5 separate regions of the Homo sapiens genome follow, and all the other regions are linked to region 5. The links are contacts of gene promoters, found by promoter capture Hi-C in blood cells and fetal thymus (Javierre and others, 2016). All regions are on one chromosome and are shown on one strand. The core of a region is centred on a gene start or on the middle of the fragment in contact, and the rest is flanking DNA. Distances in the headings are between cores, read along the strand shown. Region 1 holds the start of LOC340090 (a long non-coding RNA gene). Region 2 has its middle 12 kb from the start of TMEM171. Region 3 has its middle 6.7 kb from the start of TMEM174. Region 4 has its middle 11 kb from the start of TMEM174. Region 5 holds the start of LINC01386 (long intergenic non-protein coding RNA 1386).

Region 1 (4,512 bases), core at 1,367-3,866, 270 kb after region 5:
GACCTGAGCTCAGCAGGCAGGAGAGAATTCTGGGCAATGGGGGCTTGGTGAACAGCATCTCTTTTTTTTTTTGAGATGGAGTTTTGCTCTTGTCACTCTGAAGTACAATGGCGCAATCTCAGCCTACTGCAACCTCTGCCTCCTGGGTTCAAGCGATTCTCCTGCCTCAGTCTCCCGAGTAGCTGGGATTACAGGCACCCGTCACCATGCCCAGCTAATTTTAGTATTTTTAGTGGAGATGGGGTTTCTCCATGTTGGTCAAGCTGGTCTCGAACTCCTGACCTCAGGTGATCCACCCTCCTCGGCCTCCCAAAGTGCTGGGATTACAAGCCTGAGCCACCACGCCCAGCTAGTGAACAGTATCTCAAAGGAGAGGACGGTTTTGGGGAGGACAGGAGAACCACTAGTAGGGCAGAGACAAGGAAAAAAAGCCTGGTCATTTGGTTTGGTTTTAAGGGATTCTGCATACGGAAGTTTTTAAAAAGGAAACGAAAGAGCAGAATAAGAAAACTATTTTTTAAATGTTCAAACGGGGTGAAAAGTTTTGTAGCCTTTTTATTTTAATTTATTCTTTTTTTTTTTTTTTTTTTTTGAGTCTTGCTCTGTCACCCAGGTGGAGTGCAGTGGTGTGATCTCCGTTCACTGCAACCTCCACCGTCCAGGTTCAAGTGATTCTTCTGCCTCAGCCCCCTGACTAATTTTTGTATTTTTGGTAGAGACGGAGTGGAAATCATGTTGGCCAGGATGGTCTCAAACTCCTGGGTTAAAAGCGATCCACTGGCCTCAACCTCCCAAAGTACTGGGATTACAGATGTGAGTCACCACGCCCACCTGTAGTCTTTAAAAAATATGTTTACGTTGAACAATTAAATTATTGAAACACAAAACATGCTATATAATTGTTCTGTTCAGAAAAAATATTACAGAATTTACAAAAAATATTAACTCAGTTCCCCACAAGCAATGTAGTCCAGTAACAGGGCCAGAGATAAAGTTGCAACCTCTGTCAGCTTCTATGGGACCGTGTCCATAACCTCATTTGCAGATGAGGTCTAACTTCGAAGTGTAACCTCTTTGTGAAAGCAGAGTTTCAGGCCAGCAGTCCTCCTGCCGCCCTCCCTCCCTCCCTCCGCCCTGTGATAGGCCCTGCGAAAGGCTCTGCCTTAGAGTGGGGAGGGTCTGTGCCGGGATGTGTCCCTTTGGGTCCCATTGGAGAGGGCTCTGGGGCCCCGCTAGCGTTTCCTCCTTTGTCCTGTAGGGGGAGCCGCTGCAGTTTCGCGGGAAGTCGGCCCGGCGGAGGGCAGAGCCCTGGGCGTGGAGGAAGCTGGAGCCAGGGGAGACTGGCAGGAAAGGATCACGTGGGCCAGCGAGAGGAGAGCCTGGACAGGGGCCAGCAAAGGGCGAACTTCTGCAGACGAGGACTATCCAGCCCTAGGGGTACGGGAGAGGGAAAGACGAGGCCGAGAGGGACCCTGACTTTGCAGCAGGGTGTCTGGGCATTGGTGGCTCCACCTGCAGAACCAAAAGAATCCACCAGGTCTGATGGGCAAAGGTAACAAACTCGGCGTGAGTCCTGCCTCGCTGCGTGGGTCGTCTCAACTGTGCTTCCTGCCGAACGCCCTAGTAGCTCCCTAAAAGATGGGTGCTGCGGGCAGGGTCCCCTGCGCGCCTGCCACCGTATTCTCTCTGAAGAGGGTGCAGGTTCTGAGAAGCACCTGCTTTTTTCAGCTAGGGAGGTCCTGATCTTTTTGCTCTTGTCCCAGGACATGGCATCATAATGTGAGACTTAGATTCTTGAAATTGGGAAGGGATTTCAGCAACTCGAGGGCAAGTTGCAGATATATGCAGGTGAAAGTCAATCATAAGAAGACAAGGCCAAGAGTGAATCTGTAATGTGAATGTTAGGTGTGGGCAGAAATATGAAATGTGCTGGCTGGAATGGACCTTTACTTTTCAGGAATAGCAGGAATTAACATAGAAAGAGGTTTATGTGGAATTAGAAGGAAGAGTGGAATCAGATATCTATTTCCCATAGTGGTCCAGTTTGCTATGAGTTTCAGAAATGCACATCACCACGATCTGGTATCGTGAAATGATTTCTTAGGTAAATAAGATGGTTTTCTGTTTCCAAATATAATATATATATATATATTTTTGAGACGGAGTTTCATTCTTTTTGCCCAAGCTGGAGTGCAATGGCACCATCTCGGCTCACTGCAACCTCCGCCTCCTGGATTCAAGAGATTCTTGTGCCTCAGCCTCCCGAGTAGCTGGGACTACAGGTTCACGCCACCATGCCCAGCTAATTTTGTATTTTTAGTAGAGAAAGGATTTCACCATGTTGGCCAGGCTGGTCTCAAACTCCTGGCTTCAAGTGATCTGCCCGCCTCAGCCTCCCAAATTGCTGGAATTACAGGCGTGAGCCACCACGCCCAGCCCCAAATATAATTTCTTTGCATAAAAATGAGCTTACTAAACAGACTCGGAAATTATTGTGAGATCCTATAACCCATTTTAAAAAAACAATTGAAAACATGCTGCATGTCTGATTTCCCATGTTGAGACAAAGCTACATATGACCACTTTTGAAGAACAATAGCAATATAAAGGTACATTTAGCTCTATTCTCATTTAAAAACGCTGTTATTTTAATTGACAAAACTTCACTGCTGGATTTCATTCTCCGTTTTGCACGGAACTTCCTTAGTCCTCACAAGTATGGTGTTTTAATTATATGTTTTTGTATTGACTGGTAAAAAGAACCAAACTCCATCCTGTCTCGTCCAGAACAACTCAAAAAAAAAAAAATGATGCTGTCATCTTCAATTCTCTTCTCTTGTAAGTTTTGCTCAGAAATGGGATATGTGCTGGAGTCTGCTATAATCACTGTGGTAGCAACACTGAGTGTTTCTGGCTTGTCAGGTCCTGTTCTAAACTATATACATTAACAGATTTAATGCCAAAGCAACACTTTGAAGAAGATAGACTATTATACTATGTAGAGATGAGGGAAGTGAAGCAAGAGTATAATGCCTAAAGTCACTGAGCCAGTAGACAGCAGAACCAAGTTTGAGATCCAGCCCATCTGATTCCCGGGTTCTCGCTCTTAAGCACTCCAGCATTGTGTCTATCATTCCAGAACTCAAGAAATGCCCTTCGTTTGGTGGAGCACAGGGGCTCTGAGCTCTGGGAATTATAACTGATTAGATCTCAACATAGGCCCAAATGTCAACAGATTTTTCTTTCTGGTTTGTGGGAGTTTCAAAGCAAATAAAGCCATCACCTGGTGTATAAGTGACAATCGCCTCAAGGCCCATGTAACTTCCCTGGTGTGTCTCCCCTGTGTTTCTCAGAAAGGACTCAAATGATATTTTTTCATTACATTTCCTTGGATGTCCACTGTGGGGACAAGAGTTACTTTATTTTAAATGCTAATCCGCCTGACTAACCCCGACTCCGGGAATGCCTCCAAAATGTCAAGTTGTATTACTCTTTATGTAGGAACATCTATTCACTCTCAAGTTTCCTCCAAAACAATCCTTGGTGCTGTTGCAGAAATCATAGGATGTGATGCCTGTAGCCACCTATGTATTCTTCCAGAGTGCACATACTTTCACCAAGATAAAAGCCCTGGGTCTGTGGGCAGTTGCAGTGCGGAGATCTATCTCAGTCTTATGGTTGTCTGCCTCATTCTTGAGTTTCTTGGCTCCTTCAGCATTTGGGGGTTGCTTTGCATATATGGCCATTTCAAGGAAAATCCACTCTGTATCAAATGTAGGAACAGTTCCTCATCTTAGAAGTGAGAAAAACCAGCTCAGAACAAGGAAGTCAAGGTAGAACTTCTCAGAGTTGAACATGGGGAGAGTGTCTTAAACCCTGACAGCCTAGGCTGACAAGAGCAATTCATTTAGGTTCCTCCCTGCAGGAGGCATGACTAGTGTTTAGCAATATCCTCATCTTTCCTGCTTCCTGGGTGTGCACTAGCATCGACTTCTCAGATCCCTTGTAGCTAGGCAGAGTCATGTGGCTAGTTCTGTTCAGTAATGTGGATGGAAATGTCACACATTGCTTCTGGACTGAGACAGTGAAAACCCCTGTGTGGTTTTCCAGGTTCCTCCTCCCCTGCTGCAGCTAACATGGAGGACTTGCATGGAGATGGTGGAGTCACAGGATGAACACAGGCTAAGTCACTACCTGGAGGACAGCTGCCTGGACAGTCACCTGGATCGCAGTGGACTGCATGAATGAAAACAAAGTGAGATTGAAGAGAATGAAAACAAAGTGAGATTGAAGAGTTATTTGTTACTGCAGCAAAACTTGGCCTACCCTGATATACTCACCTCTCTTTGTCCCCTAGGTTTCCTTTTTTGGTATAGGCAGTTTGCCAACCCCCTACATTCTCAGTCTGATTTCCTCATCCCAGTCACCATGGGAGGCAACTGCTACTGATCATTGCACAGACAAGGAAATTCAGGTCACAGCAATGAGAGCCAGAGAGTCAATTCGGCAAGG
Region 2 (5,140 bases), core at 1,087-3,586, 360 kb after region 5:
TAATCCCCTTTACATTTAACTGCAAAGAGATAGGTATAGAATATACACAAAAGGAAATGAGAAAAGAATTTAAACAGCACTATGTTTTTAAAAAAAAAATCAATTAAACACAAAAGAGCAATGCAGGAAATAAGGGACAAAAAAAGCTGTAAGTCATATAAAAAAATGGCAGAATGACAGAAGTACGTCCCTTCTTATTAGTAATAACTTTAAATGTAAATGGATGAAACTCTCCAATGAAAAGACAGAGATGATTGGCAGGAAATATTTTTTTCTGAAAAACAACAACAATAACAGCAACAAAACCCATGATCCAACTACATGCTGTCTACAAGAGACTTGCTTTAGCTCCAAAGACACATATAGAATAAAAGTAAAACGATGGAAAAAGATATTGCATGCAAATAGTAAACAAAAGATAACACAGGTGACTATACTAATATCAGACAAAATAGATTTTAAATTGTAAAAATGGTTACAAGAGACAAGAAGGGCAATATAAATAAAAGTTTCAACACATTAAGAAACTAGAACAACTATAAACATTTACAACCTAATGACAGATCATCAAAATATATTCAGCAAAAACTGACAGAATCAAAGGGAGAAATAGAAAGTTGTAAAATAACAGTTGTAAACATCCATATCCCACTCTCAATAACAGACAGAACAACCAGACAAGTAAGATACACAAGAAAATAGAGGACTTAAGAAACCAACATAATAAACCAACTAGATCTAACAGACATAAACAGAACACTCTGCCCAGCAACGACAACATACACATTCTTCTCAAGTGCACATGGGGCATGGTCCAGGGTAGATCATATGATAGGCCACAAATTGTCTCAATATATTTGAAAAAATAGATGTCTGCATGTTGGAAGTCCAAGGCAGGAGGATCACTTGAGCCCAGGAGTTTGAGACCAGGCTGGGCAACATAGCAAGACTTTATTTCTACAAACAAAAAAAAAGAAAAAAATTAGCCAGGCATGGTGTGCATACCTGTGGTCCCAGCTACTTTGGAGGCTGTGGTGGGAGGATCATTTGAGCCCAAAAGGTTGAGGCTGCAGTGAGTTGTGATCACACTACTGCACTCTAGCCAGGGCAACAGAGACAAGGTCAAAAAAAAAAAAAAGATAGATAGATATCATACAAAGTATCTTCTGTAACTACAACAAGACAAAATTAGAAAGCAGAATCAGAAGTAAAACTAGAAAACTCACAAAATTGTGGTTAAGCTTGTCTAAATTCAAATTAGAATGTTATAACTTTAGGATGCTAAACAACCAATGTTTCAAAGAAGAAATCACAAAGAAAATTAGAAAATACTTACAGATGAATGAAAATAAAAACAGAACATACCAAAACTTACGGCACTCAGCAAATGCACTGATCACAGGGAAACGTATAGCTATAAATGTTTACATTAAAAAAAAAAAACCTAAACAAAGCTAGCAAAGAGAAGGAAATAATAAAGATCAGAGCAAAAATAAACAAAATAGACAATACAAAAAATAGAAAAGATTAATGAAACAAAAGTTGGTTATCTGAAAAGATCAACAAAATTTACAAACCTTTAGGGAGAGGGACTAAGAATAAAAGAAGATTCAAATTATTAAAATCAGAAATGAAAGTGAGGATATTACTACCAATCCTACATAAATAAAAAGGATTTTGAGAGAGTACTATGAACAATTGTACATCAACAAATTGGATAGCCTAAATGAAATTGACAGGTTCCTAGAACACAAAACTTACAGCAAGGTGAAATCACAAAGAAATAGAAAATTTGAATGCACCTATAAATAGTCAGGAGATTGAATCAGTAGTCATAAATGTCTCATCAAAGAAAAGCCTTGGACCTGATGGCTTCACCATGAGTTTTACCAAACACTTAAAAAAGAACAATACTAATCCTTTTCAAACTTTTCCAAGAATTGAAGAGGCAGGAACACTTCCTGACTCATTCCATGAAACTAATGTTACACTGATACTGAAGCCAGACAAAGACACTGTAAGAAAAGAAAACTATCAGACCAGAAGGACAGAGTAAAAAATAAAATAAGAAAACTGTTGACCAATATTTCTTATGATATTGGTGCAAAAATCCTCAACAAAATATTAGCAAACCAAATTCAGCAGTATATTAAAAGGATCATATGCCATGATGAAGTGGAATTTATTTCTGGAATGCAAGAATGGTTAAACATATGAAAATTGACCAATGTAATGCACCATGTTAACAGAATGAAGGAGAAAAAACACGTGGTTACCGCAATTGATGCAGAAAAAGCATTTGACAAAAATTCAACACTGTTTTATGATTAAAAATACTCAATAAACCAGGAACGGAAGGAAACTATACCAACAGTGAAAGCCATGTGGGAAAACCCACAGCAAACATGATATTTAATGGTGAAAAACTGAACACTTTTCCTCTAAGATCAGGAATGAGGCAAGGATACCTACTTTTACTACTTCTGTTTAACATAGCCCTGGAAGTACTAGCCAGGGCATTTAGGCAAGAAAAATAATAATAATAGAAGACATCCAAATTGGAAAGAAAGAAGTAAAATTCTCAATGTTTGCAGATAATATGGTGTTGTATGCTGAAAATCCTAAATATTACACACACACACAAATTGTTAGAATAAAATGAATTCAGCAAAGTAGTAGGATACAAAGTCAACACAATGCAAAAATCATTTGCATTTCTATACACTGAAAATGAATAATTTGAAAAGGGAAGTATGAAAACAATTCCATTTATAATAGCACCAAAAAGAAGAAAATAATTAGAAATTAATTTAGACAAGGAAAGTCTTGTACAATAAAAACTACAAGATATTGCTGAAAGAAATTAAAGAAAGTATAATTAAACAGAAACACATCCCATGTTCATGGGTTGGAAGGCTTAATATTGTTAAGATGTCAATACTACCCAAAGTGACCTACAGATTTGATGCAATTCCTCTCAAAATCCCAGTGATATTTTGGAGAGAAACAGAATAACTGATGCTAAAATTCATTTGAGATCTCAAGAGATCCTGAATAGCCAAAAATCTTAAAAAAGAAGACCAAAGCTGAAGGACTCACATTTCCTGATTTCAAAACTTACTACAAAGCTGCAGTAATCAAAACAGTGTGGTACCGGCATAAAAACATACATATAGACCAATTGAATAAAATTGACATCCCAGAAATAAACTCTTACATGTATGGCCAAATGATTTTTGACAAGGGTGTCATGACCATTCAATGGGGAAAGAACATTCTTCTCAACAAATGGTTTGGGAAGACTGAATATCCATATACAAAATAATGAAGTTGGACCTTACCTAACACCATACAGAAAAATCACTCAAAATTAATCAAAGACTTAAATGTAACACCTAAGACTAGAAGGAAAACATAAGGCAAAAGCTTCATGACATTGGATTTGGCAATGATTTTTTTTTTTTTTTTTTTTTTTTTTTAGACAGAGTCTTGCTCTGTTACCCAGGTTGGAGTGCAGTGGCTCAATCTCTGCTCACTGCAACCTCTGCCTCCCAGGTTCCAACGATTCTCCCGCCTAAGCCTCCAGAGTAGCTGGGATTACAGGCATGCACCACCACGCCTGGCTAATGTTTGTATTTTAAATAGATACGAGGTTTCACCAGGTTGGCCAGACTGGTCTTTAACTCCTGACCTCAGGTGATCTGCCGCCTCAGCCTCCCAAAGTGCTGGGACTACAGGCATAAGCCACCACGCCCAACTGGCAATGATTTTTTGGAAATGACATCAAAGGCGCAGGCAAAAAAGAAAAACAGAGAGAAATTGGATTTCATGAAAGTTTGAAAAATTTATGCATCAAAAGACACTATCAACAGAGTAAAAAGGCAACCCACAGAATGGGAGAAAATCTTCGCAAACCGTATATCTAATAAGGAATTAATATCCAGCATATATAGAGAACTCACCTAAAACTCAAAAACAAAAAAACCAAACAACCTGATTCAAAAAATGGGCAATGGAATTTTATAGACATTTATCCAAACAGGATATACATATATCCCCACTAAGCACATGAAAAGATGTTCAATATCACTGATCATTAGAAAAATGCAAACCAAACTACAATGAGATGCCACCTCATGACTGCTATCAAAAAGAAAAAAACAGAAAATAAGTGTTAGAGAGGATGTAGAGAGATTGGAACCCTTGTGCACTGTTGGTGGGAACGTAAACTGGTATGAAAAGAGTTTATGGTGGCATGGTGGTTCCTCAAAAAATTAAAAATAAAATTACTATATGATCCAGCAATTCCACTTCTGGGTATATACCCAAAAGAACTGAAAGCGAGGTCTCAAAGAGCTCTTTGTACATCAAAGTTCATGGCAGCATTATTCACAATAAACAAAAGATGGAAGCAACTCAAGTGCCCATTTACAGATGAATGGATAAGCAAAATATGGTATAGACACACAATGGAATATTATTCAGCCTTAAAAAGGAAGGAAATTCTGACACATGCTACAAAGATGAATCTCAAGGACACTATGCTAAGTAAAATAAGCCAGTCACAAAAAGACAGATACTTTTTGATTCCAATTACATGAGGGGTGCTTACAGTAGTCAACTCACAGAGACAGAAAGTAGAATGGTGGTTATCATGGGCTTGGGGGAGAGGAGAATGAAGGCTTATTAATGGGCATAAACTTTCAGTTTTGTTTTCCTTTTTCTTTTCTTTTTTTTTTTTTTTGAGACAGTCTCACTCTCTGTCACCCAGGCTGGAGTGCAGTGGCATGATCATGGCTCGTTGTGGCCCCAGTCTCCCCAGCTTCAAGTGATTTTCCCACCTCAGTCCCCCAAGTAGCTGGGACTACAGGCAGGCACCATCACGACTGGCTAATTTTTGTATTTTTTTTTTTTTTTTTTTTTTTGGTAGAGATGGAGTTTCACCATGTTGCCTAGGCCGGTCTGGAACTCCTGGACTCAAGCGATGCCTCCTTGGCCTCCCAAAATGCTGGGATTACAGGTATGAACCTGACCTAAAGTTTCAGTTTTCATCTTTTCAAGATGAAAAGAATTATGAAGATGGGTGATGGTGACAGTTGCACAATATTATGAATGTGTTTAATACCACTGAATTGTACAT
Region 3 (5,206 bases), core at 356-2,855, 290 kb after region 5:
GAGCAATCCAGTAAAGGTTTATTTAGTACATCCCTCTGTTGATTTTATAACCACTGCTGACTGCTTGGGACATAAAACTCTTGATGATTTACAAGCAGTAAGTGGGCAAGAAATTCATAAATCACATTCCATAATAAGGGTGTAGGTGAATATACACACATACACTTATTCATATCCACTTTCAGAGGAAGAGCTGTAGGTATGTCCAGAAAATATATTCATTTTTAATTCAAAAAATGGAGAGCTCATTGATAAGAGGCCCACAGTCAATAACATCTGAGAGGTAAATTATATCAGGTAATATTTTAATGTAAAGCAAGAGGCTTTGCTCTTGTGTTTCTGAAAGAGGAGACTGGTTCGTGCTTTTGAGATGTTCAAAGGGGTTTTTATGATCTCTGAAGGAAAACAATAATTTTTTTTCTAAAAAGCTTTACTGACCAAGCCAAAAATGTTGAAGATTGCCAAGGTTTCCTGATACTCTTGAAATTATTCTGCAACAGATAATTCTCAACTAAACAGTCATTTGAAGATCTCTCTCTCCTTTTTTCTAAGTCTGGTTTTAGAAAAATCCCTAATAGTATTCTAAAAGTGGGAAAAATATAAGTTTTTAATTCCAGGGAAGTAGTAGGGCTTCAGGGAACTAATAGAGAAGGAGAAAAATCTTGTAAAACATATTTGTTTGGAAAGTAAAATTTAATAATTATGAATCTGCTACCATGAATAGTTTGCCAACCATCTGCCTCTCAAAATATAGTATGAAACAGCTAGAAATTTAAGATGCAATTGGCAAAATGTAATTCTTATTTGGATTCTGATTCAAACCAAACAAAGAAGAAAAAATAAGAGAGAGTGAGATGGGGGAAAATTGGGGAAATTTGAACACTGATTAGGTATTTGATGACATTCAAAAATAATTGTAAATTTTTAAGTTATAATAATGGTGTTCTAATTCTTTCAAGTCTTTATCTTTTAAAGATACACAACAAAATATTTTAGACTGAAATTATTTGATGGCTTGAATTTGCTTTTAAAAAATCCAACTGGGGGAATTGTGAGTGGGGGGTATAAATTAAACAAGATTGGCCATGAGTAGATAATCACTGAAGCTGGATGAAAGATACATGGGGTTTCATATACAGGCATACTTAGAGACATTGTGGGCTCGGTTTCAGACCACTGCAAGAAAGCAAATAATGCAATAAAGTGAGTCACACAAATTTTTTTGTTTCCCAATGCATATAAAAGTATATTTATGGGCCAGGCGTGGTGGCTCACGCCTGTAATCCCAGCACTTTGGGAGGCTGAGGTGGGTAGATCACTTGAGGTCAGGAGTTCAAGACCAGCCTGGCCAACATGGTGAAATCCCGTGTCTACTAAAACTACAAAAATTAGCTGGGCGTGGTAGTGGGCGCCTATAATCCCAGCTGCTTGGGAGGCTGAAGCATGAGAATGGTTTGAACCCAAGAGGCAGAGGTTGCAGTGAGCCAAGATTATGCCACTGCACTTCAGCCTGGGCAACAGAGCGAGACTCCATCTAAAAATATATATATATTTACACTATACTTGTCTGTTAAGGGTGCAGTAGCATTATGTCTAAAAAACAATGTACATACCTTAATTATAAAATACTTTGTTGCTTATTGCTTAAAAATGCTAGTGATCATCTGAGCCTTCAGCAAGTCATAATCTTTTTGCTGGTGGAGGGTCTTGCCTGGATGTTGATGCCTGCTGACTAATCAGTATGGTGTTTGCTGAAGGTTAAGGTGGCTGTAGTCATTTCTTAGTAAGACAACAGTGAGGTTTGCTGCATGGTTGAACTCTTCCTTTCATGAAAGATTTCTCTGTAGCATGAGATGATGTTTGATAGCATTTTTCCCACAGCAGAAGTCAACTTTCAAAATTGGAGTCAATCCTCTAAAACCCTGCTGCTGCCTTATCAACTAAGTTTATGAAATATTCTCAATTCTTTGTTGTTATCACAACGATGTTCACAGCATCTTAATCAGGAGTAGTTTCCATCTCATGGAACAATTTTGTTTACTCATTCATAAGAAGCAACTTCTCATTCATTCCAGTTTGATCATGAGATTGGAGCAATTCAATCACATCTTCAGGCTCCACTTCTAAATCTAGTTCTCTTGCTGTTCCCTTCATGTCTGCAGTTACTTCCTCCACTGAAGTCTTGAGCCTCTCAAAGTCATCCAAGAGGACTGGAATCAACTTCTTCCAAACACCTGTTAATGTTGCCATTTTTACTTCCTCCTACGAATCACAAATGTTCTTAATGGTATCTAGAATGATAAATCCTTTCCAGAAGGTTTTCAATTTACTTTTCCCAGATCCATCAGAGCAATCACTATTTATGGCAGCTATAGTCTTACAAAATCCATTTCCTAAGTAATAAGACTTAAAAATAGAAATCATTCCTTTATCCATGGGTTGCAGAGTGAACGTTATCTTAGTGAGCATGAAAACAACATTAATTTGCTTGTACATCTCCCTCAGAACTCTTGGGTCGATGAGCAGTAATATTTTTAATGGGATCCTTCTGAGCAGCAGGTGTCAACGGTGAACTTAGAATAATCAGGAAACCATGCTATAAATAGATGTGCTCTCATGCAGGCTTTGTTGTTTCATTTCTAGAGCACAGGCAGAGTAGATTTAGCATTATTCTTAAGGGCCTTGGGATTTTGGAATGGTCAATGAGCATTGGCTTCAGCTTCAAGCCACCAGCTGCTTTAGCCCCTAAGTCAAGAAAGTCAGCCCTTCCTTTGAAGCTTTGAAGCCAGGCACTGACTTCTCCTCTCTAGCTGTGAAAGAATTAGATGGTCTTCCATCTAGAGGGCTGTTTTATCTACAGTGAAAATCTGTTGTTTAGTGTAGCCACCTCCATCAATGATCTTAGCCAGATCTTCTGAATAACTTACTGCAGCTTCTAAATCAGCACTTGCTGCTTCGCTTTGCACTTTTATGTTATGGAGATGGCTTCTTTCCTTAAACCTCATGAAGCAACCTCTGCTAGCTTCCAACTTTTCTTCTGCAGCTTCCTTACTTCTCTCAGCCTTCATAGAATTGAAGAGAATTTGGGCCTTGCTCTGGATTAGGCTTTGGCTTAAGAGAATGTTGTAGCTGGTTTCTATCCAGACCACTCAAACTTTCTCCACATCACTAATAAGGCTGTTTCAATTTCTTATTATTCGTGTATCCACTGAAGTAGCACTTTTAATTTCCTTCATGAACATTTCTTTTGCATTCACAACTGGCTAATTATTTGGTACAAGAAACCTAGCTTTCAGCCAGTCTGGGCTTTCAACACACCTTCCTCACTAAGCTTAATTTCAAGTGAGCTTTTGATTTTGAGTGAGAGACATGCGACTCTTCCTTATACTTGAACACTTAGAGGCCATTGTAGGGTTATTAGTTGGCTTAATTTCAATATTGTTGTGTCTCAAGGAATAGGAAGGCCCAAGGAGAGGGAGAGAGTCGGGAGAATGGCCAGTGGGTGGAGCAGTCAGAGTGCACACATTTATCAAGTAAGTTCATCATCTTATATGAGCAAGGTTGATGGTGCCCCAAAACATTTACAACAGTAACATTAAAGATCACTGATTGCAGATCACCATAACTGATATAATAACAATGAAAAAGTCTGGAATATTGCAATAATTACTAAAATGTGATGTAGACACACAAAGTGAGCACACGCTGTTAGAAAAATGGCACTGAGACTTGCTCCACATGGGATTGCCACAAACCTTCCATTTGTTAAAAAAAAAAAATCTGCAAAGTCCAATAAAATGAGGTCTTCCTGTACTCTTTTATGTACGCTTGTATTTGTTTGAAATTTTTTGCAATGTGAAAAACAACAAAAACAGCTAACAAGCTAGAATGGTTACTCATTATGTATTTGAACATTTTTTCATGTATTCATATCACATTTATTATTCAACAGAAACCAAGCATTGGTTGCGTAAAGGGCTCTGAGTGAGACATTTCAGTAAATGCTGAGTGGTGTGAGCTGCAGTCACTCCAAACAGTGCAGGTTGTGACGGGTGGGGACACTACTGATATCTAGACCACATCAGCCTCTGTGTTGTGTGCTGGAGCCTCTCTCCTCTAGGTAAGTAAGAAGGTGTCTACCCGTTGGTTACTGTGAAGAGCTTCTGTTTAGGGGAACGGCCACCCAGCAGTATTCAGCTTCGGTGCAATCTACTCCACTGATCTAACAGTCATCAACAGCTAGTTGGAAGCTAGCAGAGGTTGCTTCATGAGGTTTAAGGAAAGAAGCCATCTCCATAACATAAAAGTGCAAAGCGAAGCAGCAAGTGCTGATTTAGAAGCTGCAGCAAGTTATTCAGAAGATCTGGCTAAGATCATTGATGGAGGTGGCTACGCTAAACAACAGATTTTCACTGTTAGTCATCTAACAGGACCGGAGAAGCCCCAGAGGTCTGAAGCTGAAAACAGAGACTCAAGGCCAGCTCTCCAGAAAAAAAAGGAGGCTTTATTTTTATGCTGTACCTAAAAAAGAAAAAGTAAGGAGAGCAGTCAAAGGGCTGGTTTTGTAGCAGACAGCCATGTGGTGAATTTGAAACTTACACCAGTGCCTGGCCTGCAGAGCAGAAGGGAATGTGACTGGGATCTCTGGAAAGCCCTCCACCTCTAGAAGGCACTTCCCAGAGGGCAGTGAAAACAGAGCCTCCTTGCACAAGAGATTTGCCCTCCAGTGGCCCAAAAAGGAGAAAGAAAAGTCCTGAGAGCTTTGTGAAAGCTTCTTCCCCTTGGTGTCTGAGCCTTGTTTCTCAAACCTGGATGATCCCTTTCCTCTCCATCAAAACCATCAGCTGTTATCAGTCACTGTAGGCAAAAAACCCAGCCCAAATTGCTCCCAGGAGATAACAAGTTCTTAAGAAACTCGTGGCTGGGCGCGGTGGCTCACACCTGTAATCCTAGCACTTTGAGAGGCTGAGGCACGCAGATCACCTGAGGTTGGGAGTTTGAGACCAGCCTGGCCAACATGGAGAAGCCCCATCCCTACTAAAAATACAAAATTAGCTGGGCATGGTGGTGCATGCCTGTAATCCCAGCTACTCAGGAGGCTGAGGCAGGAGAATCGTTTGAACCTGGGAGGCAGAGGTTGCAATGAGCTGATACCACGTCATTGCACTCCAGCCCTGACAACAAGAGCGAAACTCCATCTCAAAAA
Region 4 (5,257 bases), core at 1,384-3,883, 310 kb after region 5:
GATATGTGGAGGAGAATGGGAGATGACATAAAAGATGATTGGGTCTCCTTCTACCTGCCAAAAGGCTCAGCCATCTTACCATCTTAACGCAGCAGCCACGTAAAAGAAGGAAGTAGAAAGGAGCTCCATTTAACCAAGTGCCCTTTTCAATCACAATGCTACCACCCATGTGTAAACATAGTCCAATTAATCTAGAACTTAAGCGAGGAGATTCATAACTACTCCTTCCAGAGAAAAGCATCAGATAAAAGATGATACCATCCAGGAATTTCTTTGGTGAAAATAAGAGAAATTCTTTTAACACTAATGCCAAACTTTTTATCAGTACAGTATAATTAAATGGTCTCAAATGGCTGATAGTCTCAGTGGTCAAGTAAGGCTCTTCCTTTAATTCTCAAACTTCATTTTTACTGTTAGGGTGTCACATGTAATAAAAACACATGGTTTTCCCTTGCAATTGTTGTTTGAGAATATTTAGCATAGAAACTTGAAAAACATTTGTTAACCAAGCCAACTTTGTGAGCAACCTTTGTTATTAAGGTGAGCTATTAATTCATTTGCTTTATCCAGAATTTTACCCTTTGTACTGGGTGGAACATACCTTCTTTGAAAAATGGAAATAATAGGCTGGGTGCGGTGGCTCATGCCTATAATCCCAGCACTTTGGGAGGCCGAGGTGGGCAGATGGCTTGAGGTCAGGAGTTCAAGACCAACCCGGCCAACATAGTGAAACCCTGTCTCTACTAAAAATAATAAAAATAAAAATTAGCCGGGCATGGTGGTGCGTGCCTGTAGTCCCAGCTACTCGAGAGGCTGAGGCAGGAGAATCACTTGAGCCCGGGAGATGGAGGTTGCAGTGAGCTGAGATCATGCCACTGCACTCCAACTTGGGCAACAGAGTGAGACTTTGTCTCAAAAAAAAAAAAAGGAAAGAAAGAAAAATGAAAATGATAATTTACATTATTCACAACTTCTCAGAAAAAATATAGAAAATAATAATTCAATCCTGAATTCAGAAAATCTGGCTGGTAAGTTTTCAAAGTTATTAATCATTTTTTTCTTTGGGGTCCATGACAAAGGAAATTATTTTAATTTGTTGAGAATGCATATATTCAATGTGCTATTTCCTTTTTGACAAAGCTTCCTGCTACTTAATTCCCTTAAGTAAGGAAATCCAGAGGCCAATTCTTTGTGGTGGTGTTCTCAATGGATGCAATGGCTACTGAAGAAACCTTAGGACCCCATCTTATTGAACTATTTGTACCAGTTATTTTATCTGATCAAGCTCTGGGCACGTCTTCACAAGCATTATCAATGGGAGCTGTCTCCCTTAGGGCTCCCCCAGCTCTGATCCTTGTTCTCCAATTGCAGCAAATAAAAGGAACTGACTGAATCAGAGATTAAATGACATGTCTTAAGATGCAGTTCACAATGACAAATGAAAACTGGTCCACTAGGCCAGGGGTGATGGCTCACGCCTGTAATCCCAGCAGTTTGGGAGGCTGAAGTGGGTGGATCACCTGAGATTGGGAGTTCAAGAACCAGCCCGGCCCAGATGGTGAAACCCCATCTCTACTAAAAATACAAAAATTAGCCAGGCATGGTGGCACGCGCCTGTAATCCCAGCTACTCAGGAGGCTGAGACAGGGGATTCGCCTCACTGCACTCCAGCTTGGGCGGCAAAGCGAGACTCCATCTCAAAAAAAAAAAAAAAAAAAGAAAAAGAAAAAAGAAAACTTGTCAACTAAAATTAAATACTTTTTAAAAAATTTAAGTTAATCAATCGGTCATTTAGCAAATTAGTCTTTAAGCAAATTGACCTAAATTCATTTTGCATAAATAGAACAAAGACCTGTAAAATGGTTACATCCCTTCGGTCTGTGCTTTTATCAAAATGTTCAAAATTAATTTTTTGGGAGGTTGGCAATATTTACTCAAATTTAAATTTTAATCTCTCACTAATTATTTATATATGGCTTTTTAGCACATTCAGATTTTTTTAAATAAGAGCACCCTTTTTGGTTTAGACTGCCTGTTTTGACCTAAGTTTTTCTTCAGCCATGTCTGGAGAGCAGTGCCACCTCCTTCCAAAGCATTTGTGACAGTGACCTTTCAGGAAATTGCAGGCAATGTTTCGTTTGCTAGATGGACTGTGGTTTATAATTAGGAAGGACTGTGCTTCTTACTAACACTTTGTATATCTACTTCCAGATATTTTTTACTTCTGCAGGTTCACACATCTCATAAAAATGAAATCTCATTAAACTTGATTTTTCTGGCCCAGTGCAGTGGCTCACATCTGTAATCCCAGCACTTTGGGAGGCCGAGGCAGGCAAATCACTTGAGGTCATGAGTTCGAGACCATCCTGGCCAAAATGGTGAAACCCTGTCTCCACTAAAAATACAGGAAAATTAGCCAGGTGTGGTGCTGGGTGCCTGTAATCCCAGATACTCAGGAGTCTGAGGCAGGAGAATTGTTTGAACCCAGGAGGTGGAGGCTACAGTGAGCCAAGATTGCACCACTGCACTCCAGCCCGGGCAACCCAGCAAGACTCTATCTAAAAAAAAAAAATTATTTTTCTTCAACTCACCTTTTTACCTAGTAGCTCATGTCATCTTTCCCAAATTCATACAATTTTAGTTTTTAATATTTTGACAAGAATGAGTGATTCAATTATAGCTGGAAGTTTCTCAAACAAGCAATACAAAGATATCAAATAGATATCAAAGTTTAAGCTCATTTTCTTCTCCACAATAAAATCCATAATTTGAATAAGAATCTAGGGTAAACCATTTTTAAAACTTTATGAATGCATTGTTTTGGCAAGTCACTGGGAAAACAGCTTTAAATCTGAGTGGGGAAGAGTATAACTTGACACAACCTCTTTTTGGGGGGCTTGGCAATATTTACTAAAATTCAAAATGTACGTACAACAGAATTAAAGAAGCTACAAACATCTTCTAGGAATGTAACCTACATACTTACAATAGACACCTTACAAAAGGATACTTTAGCAGAATAGACAATGAATCACTATCTGTACTAACAAAGTACAGGGATGGGGAACCCTACATGTCCATCAGTAGTGGACTGGCTAAATAACTTATGGTGGTAAAATATAAGGTTCTCTTCCACTGTTAAAGAGCAAGTCAGCTGTACATACACAGGTATGGAATAATCTCTAAGATGTGTTATTGGTTGAAAAAGAAAGCAGAGTGAGTACTGTAGTGTGCTTATTATGCCATTATTTGCAAGGGGAAAGACATACACATCATTGAATGTCTGTGCATAAAATGTCATTGAAAGAATATGAAATAAATTTGACAGAAGAACTGAGAGGGTGTTCCAGTTATCTATTGCTATATAACAATCCACTCCCAATTTTGTGGCTTAAAACAGTTATGTGGCTTGGCTGAGTTTTGTCAGGCAGTCAGCAAGGGCTGCCAGAACCTAGAAGCTCACCTGAGTGGGACATCAAGATGGTTCACTCATGTGACTGACAGCTGATGCTAGGAGCTTCGCTGGCTCATCAACCAGAGCACTCACCTGTGTCTTTCCATGTGGTTTCTCCCGGCCAGGGGACTGGGTTTCAAGAGGAAGTGTCTTAGGAGCAAGTACTCCTGGGGTCCCAGGTGGAAGCTGTGAGGCGTCTTATGACCTGGCTTTGGCAGTCCCAGAATATCACTCTCATTTCATTCTATTGCTCAAGCAAGTCACTAAACCAACCCAGATACAAAGGGAAGGGAATTCGATTCTTCCTTTCTATAGTTGGAATGTCAAGGTCACATTGCAGAAGAACACTTGGGAGAGGAAATATTACCATCTTTCTCTTTGGAAAATACAATCTTCTGCAGAGGGAGATTTACTTTTCACTGTTCAGTCTGTGATACTGCTTGAATTTTCGTCCATGTGAACATCCAAATATAGTCCAAGATTTTAGATCAACCATGTTTATATACCCATTCACTTGTGGCTGGTTAGTAACCTCATCCTTCTTTACTGGCAAGTTTTCAGTGAGTCCTCAGGTGGTAACACTCTGTCACAATCAACAATAATGGCAGGTTCTGAATTTTTCTGAGTTTCTTACATATTTTCACTGCTTTTCAGACTTAGACATCAAGCTTCCTGTTTTTAACCACCAATCCACATTCCCCGTTAAAAATTGTAATTTTGAAATGATTATAGTTTAAAAAGATGAATAATGAATGACAGTATAACCACAAAAACAGAGTTTTCAGAGGTTATCAGAGACCTGCGGTGGGAAGTGAAACTAAGCGTGGTCATATAGTTCTGAACAAATCGTTTGATTGAACACATTGTGGTTGGAAGTAAATTGCTTTGTGGAAGCTGTGTGTGTGTGATTAAATGTCTTTTTTCAAAAGTTTGGTAGAGTGGCAAACCCATGTTTCAAAGATCTGTCTGCTTGTGCTGTGATCCTGCAGGGTAATCTATTGGCCATATTCACTTGGATCAGACTACAGACAGAACACTACCAGGTTCTCTGATAACAAAAAAGCCCCAAAATATTTCAACAACTTATAGCACATAAAAAGCAAAATAAAACAAAACAAAGCCACAAGCTTGGGTGACATGGAAAAACAGGAACCTGCATGTTTTACTTGCAAATACATGTCTCAAAACCCTTCAAGATTTCCAAAATTCAAAAGAATGTCTTCCTAAACATTTAGGTAAAAATGGCACCATGTGGCCTCCCCTACGCTGGTGCACCACAGGAGGTGGGGGTTCAGGAAAGAGGGGTTGGGGAGAAAAGAGAGAAGCCACAAGAAGGGACCTGGACATTCTTCTCTGCACTGTAGGACCCTGTCAGTGGCCACCACTACCTGGCAATCCTGAGATGATCAACAAAATCAGAAAAGGTCCGGATGACAAAATCAGACTCCAGAGGAAGGTGGTTCATGGGTCCACGTGGATGTGAGAGGAACACAGGGTCAGGATGCATAGTCTGCTGGGAAGCCTTCTGAGAAACCCAGGTGCTAGACCTGTCCTGGTGTCCAGCACAAGGCGGGAACATCCTCCATGATATTCCTCCAGTCTTTAGGGCTAGATCAGTGAAAGTAGGCAGATGTCATGGCAAGGGGTGACTACGGTCAGAAATGCACACCCTGCGCAGCTCTGTACCTTCAGAGGGCCACAGTTGCAGACCTGCAGGGAGTAGCAACGAGGATGGGGTGACCTATGCCACTTGGCCCCACCCCCTCAAGGACATGCGGCAAGAGGATCCTTGCACAGTAAGGA
Region 5 (5,083 bases), core at 207-2,706:
TACTTTTCTAGCAAAAGCAACAGTTGAAAATAACTGATTTTCTAAACATGAATGTTTAACTTTTGCTTCATATGAAAAAATAACTTTTTTTTTTTTAAGAGGCAGAGTAGCTCGAGTGTAGTGGTATAATCATAGCTCACTACAGCCTCAAACTCCTGGGCTCAAGTGATCTTCTTGCCTCAGCCTCCCAAGCAGCTAGGAATACAGGCTTGAACCACCACACCTGGCCAATTTTTCTATTTTTTGTAGAGTTGGGGGTCTCGCTATGTTGCGTATGCTGGTCTTGAATTCCTGGCCTCAAGCAATCCTTGTGCTTTGGCCTCCCAAAGTGTTGAGATTACAGGCATGAGCCACTAGGCCCAGCTGAGAAAATAACTAGACAGTCATTATTTATTCCGATATTGTTGATATTTTTTCTTTTCAGCACTTGACATATTTATTGATAGTTGAATAACTTTTGTAGGATTAAATAGTAAAATATATATCATTTTAATTTAATTCTCAAAGCTCAAGTCACACACAAAAATACTGAGGATCAAATATAGACAATATACTCAAGGCAGCCGATAACAGCCAATAGGCACAAAAAGGCCACCTCTAATGGACTGAGCAATCAATTGAGAAGTCCCCCAGTCACAGCCATCTACTCACCATAGTTTTGGTACCAATCTAGAATACATTTTGTGTATCTGCTATGTCAATACCAACCCCACTGAGTTGGGAGTCCTTGAGGGGCAGGCACTCTTTTGATCACCAAGCTGGTTTCTTTGTTTGGATCCCTGCAATCTGTTGTTGAAATGAGGTGTCCAGATTTGAATATAGTATTCTGACACAAAGTGGAGAAAAAGGTTATCTCTTCCCCTTTTTTAGACAGCATTTATCTAGTAACACAGTCTAAGATTGCATGGGGTGAGGAGTAGCCTGAATGGCTCTCTAAAGTCTGTTAGTAGTGGGCCAGGTGTGGTGGCTCTCACCTGTAATCCTAGCACTTTGGGAGGCTGAGGCCAGAGGATCACTTGAAGCCAGGAGTTCATGATCAACCTGGGCAACACAGTGAGACCCCTTCTCTACAAAAAATTTAAAAATTATCCAGATTTGGTGGTGCATGGCTGTAGTCCCAGCTACTAGGGAGGCTGAGGTGGGAAGAGTGCTTGAGCTTGAGAGATCAAGGCTGGGAGTGAGCCATGATTGCACCACTGCACTCCAGCCTGGGTAATAGAGCAAGACCCTGTCTCAAAAAGAAAAAAAAAAAGGTCTATGCATAGTGAACTGAAATCCCTAAGCCTTTCCTTACATATCCTGCTGTTATGATGAATTGTTCCTGGAACATAGGTGTGACTGGCATTCATACTTGTTACATTTCATTATTAGAATCTCCCCATTATTCTGTCATGTTGAGATATTTAAAGATTCTGATTCTATCATCCAATATATTTATTCATTCATGTATTTATACTTGCTTTTCTAAAGATATTTTCATAAAAGTTAATAAGAACAGAAACAAAAAAATCAGTATGAGGAAAAGAAGCAAAATTTCCAGTTCCTAGAGGTAACATATGTGCTGAGTTTGGGCATGTGAAGTGTAAATCTAAGCTTTACCTTAAAAGGGAGGATTATATTCTTCTTTATGCATCTTCCATTGCCGGGAGAGAATGGGTCTAAACAGGTTGTCTTGGGAGTTATACATATTTACTTTTTCAAAATAAAATACACTTGGCACCTGAGATTTAACCACTTAATATATATCAGCATACACTGTAAATTGTAAATATAACTGGAAAAACAGAATTTTGTAAAAATGCAAAATATGGTCTTTTTCATGCCCATAATACAATAAAGCATTTTATCATTTTGACCATATTAACTTATGTTAACAGTATGACATCAAACACGGAGTCAATGAGCAGCACAATTTTGGGGGAAAAAAGATCTTACTACTGATATTCTCTATAATAAAGGGAAGAGAGTGTTTTTGACTTGAATTTTTTGGACATTTGGCCGAATCCTTTACTCAGTGAGAATTGACTTGGCTTATGAGAGTTAATTCATACCATTTGGAGGCTGAAGCAGTTATAAAGCTGCTTTGGAATGTCCTAAATTGGGCCTAAGAGACCTGTTTTTGACAGATGCGCTCATGTAGTCCAGTCAATTGGCATATGGAATTTTAATGTACAAGCTAGTGCAAAAGTTTCTACATGTAACATTTATTAGTGCTCCTAGTGGCATGGAGAGACAGATGGTACACACATTACATGCAGAAGCGAGCTTTGCAATTGGCCTTACAGGCCCAATTTTGCTCAGTTACCTAGGTCCCTTAACTGCACCCCCATACTCCCCACCCCCACACACGTGTGAGAGCCCAAATGCCCAACCCTTCCATCTCTCCTGCCCCAGAGTCCACTATGGGAACCTCCCTTTCCTTCCAATTGCTTGACTTGAGATCTCCCTTCTTTCTTGCCCTTTCTTTGGCCCAGATCCTCACCTCCTCTGGATTTTCACATCCTCCAGCTGGTCCAGCATGAGCTCTGGAGGCTAAGGTAGGGAAGAACATTGCCTTACAGCTGTTCTCAGTCCCCACCCACCCCTAATATTAGTCTTGGCAACATTCATCCCATTTCCTCACATTTATCCCAGACTCCTCTCCTGACATCTCAGCTCTAGAAATGAAATGCTCAGGTCTACAAGAGCTGCAGAGAGATCTTCTGTCCCAGATAGTCCCAAAGAAAACTCAGGGGTGGGGAAAATGTCTTCCTTCCTTCTCTGTAATATCTAAATGAAATAGCAAAAGAGGGGAGTGCTGGGTGGAGCCTTTTTGCCTTTTCAGTCCCTGCCCCCTTCTCTGTTGTTACTGGCAATACAGACCCTTAGAAGCTAAAAAAAAAACCTTAAGGATGTGTGTGTGTTTTTAAAAGGTATGTCTGGGGAGGCGGAATGCTGAGTCTGAATTCTCTTCTTCACTGGCCCAAAGAGGAGAGAAATTCTGTTCAGAAGTTACTAAGGGCCAGCTGCTGTGGCTCAAGCCTGTAATACTAACACTTTGATAGGCTGAGATGGGCAGATCCTTGAGCCTAGGAGTTGGAGGCCAGCCTGGGCAATATGGCGACACCCCACCTCTACCAAAAAATACAAAAATTAGCCGAGCATGGTAGCATGTACATGTAATCCCAGCAACTCAGGAGGCTGAGGCGGGAGGATCACCTGAGCCCAAGGAGGTTGAGGCTGCAGTGAGCCATGATCATGTCACTACACTCCAGCCTGGGTGACAGAGTGAGATCCTCTTTCAAAAAGAAGAGAAAAGAAAAAAGAAGAGAAAGGAAAACAAAAGAAAAGGAAAGAAAATAAAAGAAAAATAGCTACTAAGAGTGGCAATGGTAAAGGAAGTGGGTGGGCTGGGTGACTGAGAGGCAGCTTGGAGATTCATTAGCAGGAAATCCTGACAGTCGGCAACTCCTGGAACCTTCATCCCAAAGAGGCTCATTTCCTCTCTGCTCCATTTTTTGGGTCTCCATCCAGATCTTCACCCCAGTCTTACCGTAGTCTCTTCCCTTCTCTCTTTATGTAGGTGTGTGTTGGATGGAGGGATATAAAGAGAGAGGATCCCCCACTTCATTATAGTGGTGGAAGGGGAGGGTGGGAGCTGAGGTATCATAGAATTCCAGATGTATATTCTCCTAGAAATACTATAATACATGACAGATAGGGTGAATAGTACTGTTAGGACTTTATTGAACAGAAAATCAGGCCTACTTGGTAAGCCATAGGGTATGATAAAGAAGTGGTCCAGGAATCTGAAACTTAACTTGGCTCTGTCACCAGCGCTCTAGATGAATCACATCCATTTACATTTCGATGAAAACATCTATTTACACTTCCAGTGAAATTTCTGATATCTGCCCACCTCACAAGACTGTGGAGGTGTATATGGCAGAGGTACCTGACAGCCACAAATGAGGCTTACTCTGAGAATGACCCCATGGTCTAAGAAGAATGTGGATTTGAAGTCCCAAGCTAAGGAATCCGGGAGTGGCCAATCGAGAGAATCACTCCTTATCTGTAAGGGACATCCAAACCCCTGGCCTATCCCTTAAAATGCAGGCCATATAGGGGATTGAGGCCCTTTGTTTTGTGTCAAATAGAGATTGCTAGGTGGAGGGTGCTAAGTGAAAATGCTATATAAACTGCATGCTTTTTACAAACAATAGTGGTTCTCCTGTCCACCTGCTGTCACAGGACCAGCCCTGTGTGTAAGTTCTCATAGGCCATAGAACCGCCCCTGTTTGTAATCCTCACAGGCCACAGGACCGACCCTGTGTGTAAGTCCTCACAGGCCACGGGACCACCCCTGTATGTAAGTCCTCACAGGCCATAGGACCGCCTCTGTTTGTAAGTCCTCATGGGCCATGGGACCACCCCATTCATAAGTCCTCATAAGCCTTATGTCTTGTTTGCTAGCTCCAGGCCTCTTCACGCTCTCGGACATGGTGCCATCGCCAAGTCAATCCTAAGCCAAAAGAACAAAGGTGGAGGCATCACGCTACCTGGCTTCAAACTATACTACAAGGCTACAGTAACCAAAACAGCATGGTACTGCTACCAAAACAGAGATATAGATCAATGGAACAGAACAGAGCCCTCAGAAATAATGCCGCATATCTACAACTATCTGATCTTTGACAAACCTGAGAAAAACAAGCAATGGGGAAAGGATTCCCTATTTAATAAATGGTGCTGGGAAAACTGGCTAGCCATATGTAGAAAGCTGAAACTGGATCCCTTCCTTACACCTATACAAAAATTAATTCAAGGTGGATTAAAGACTTAAACGTTAGACCTAAAACCATAAAAACCCTAGAAGAAAACCTAGGCATTACCATTCAGGACATAGGCATGGGCAAGGACTTCATGTCTAAAACACCAAAAGCAATGCCAACAAAAGCCAAAATTGACAAATGGGATCTAATTAAACTAATGAGCTTCTGTACAGCAAAGGAAACTACCATCAGAGTGAACAGGCAACCTACAAAATGGGAGAAAATTTTCGCAACCTACTCATCTGACAAAGGGCTAATATCCAGAATCTACA

What was found. Contacts are between HindIII fragments. The CHiCAGO score rates a contact against its expected background, and 5 or more counts as called.
Region 1: a contact is called between a fragment that was not itself captured here and the fragment with the promoter of LINC01386 in region 5, in 1 of 17 cell types (M2 macrophages). The highest score is 5.8, in M2 macrophages.
Region 2: a fragment that was not itself captured here is called in contact with the fragment with the promoter of LINC01386 in region 5 in 1 of 17 cell types (M2 macrophages); the score reaches 5.5 in M2 macrophages.
Region 3: a fragment that was not itself captured here is called in contact with the fragment with the promoter of LINC01386 in region 5 in 1 of 17 cell types (M1 macrophages); the score reaches 5.4 in M1 macrophages.
Region 4: a fragment that was not itself captured here is called in contact with the fragment with the promoter of LINC01386 in region 5 in 1 of 17 cell types (M1 macrophages); the score reaches 6.2 in M1 macrophages.

What each region holds. Positions count from the first base shown.
Region 1 is chr5:73,198,858-73,203,369 of GRCh38, reverse strand. It overlaps LOC340090 (a long non-coding RNA gene), which reads left to right and starts at 1,409. Exons shown (of 3, transcript NR_134291.1): 1 at 1,409-1,552; 2 at 4,111-4,281. The HindIII fragment of the contact is 5,769 bases long and covers 1-4,512 here.
Region 2 is chr5:73,105,968-73,111,107 of GRCh38, reverse strand. No RefSeq gene overlaps it. Among named protein-coding and RNA genes, the nearest start is that of TMEM171, 12 kb to the left of the region's middle. The HindIII fragment of the contact is 2,185 bases long and covers 1,244-3,428 here.
Region 3 is chr5:73,177,319-73,182,524 of GRCh38, reverse strand. No RefSeq gene overlaps it. Among named protein-coding and RNA genes, the nearest start is that of TMEM174, 6.7 kb to the right of the region's middle. The HindIII fragment of the contact is 2,349 bases long and covers 431-2,779 here.
Region 4 is chr5:73,159,364-73,164,620 of GRCh38, reverse strand. No RefSeq gene overlaps it. Among named protein-coding and RNA genes, the nearest start is that of TMEM174, 11 kb to the left of the region's middle. The HindIII fragment of the contact is 2,982 bases long and covers 1,143-4,124 here.
Region 5 is chr5:73,469,339-73,474,421 of GRCh38, reverse strand. It overlaps LINC01386 (long intergenic non-protein coding RNA 1386), which reads left to right and starts at 1,456. Exons shown (of 5, transcript NR_126410.1): 1 at 1,456-1,549; 2 at 2,475-2,537. The HindIII fragment of the contact is 6,957 bases long and covers 1-1,595 here.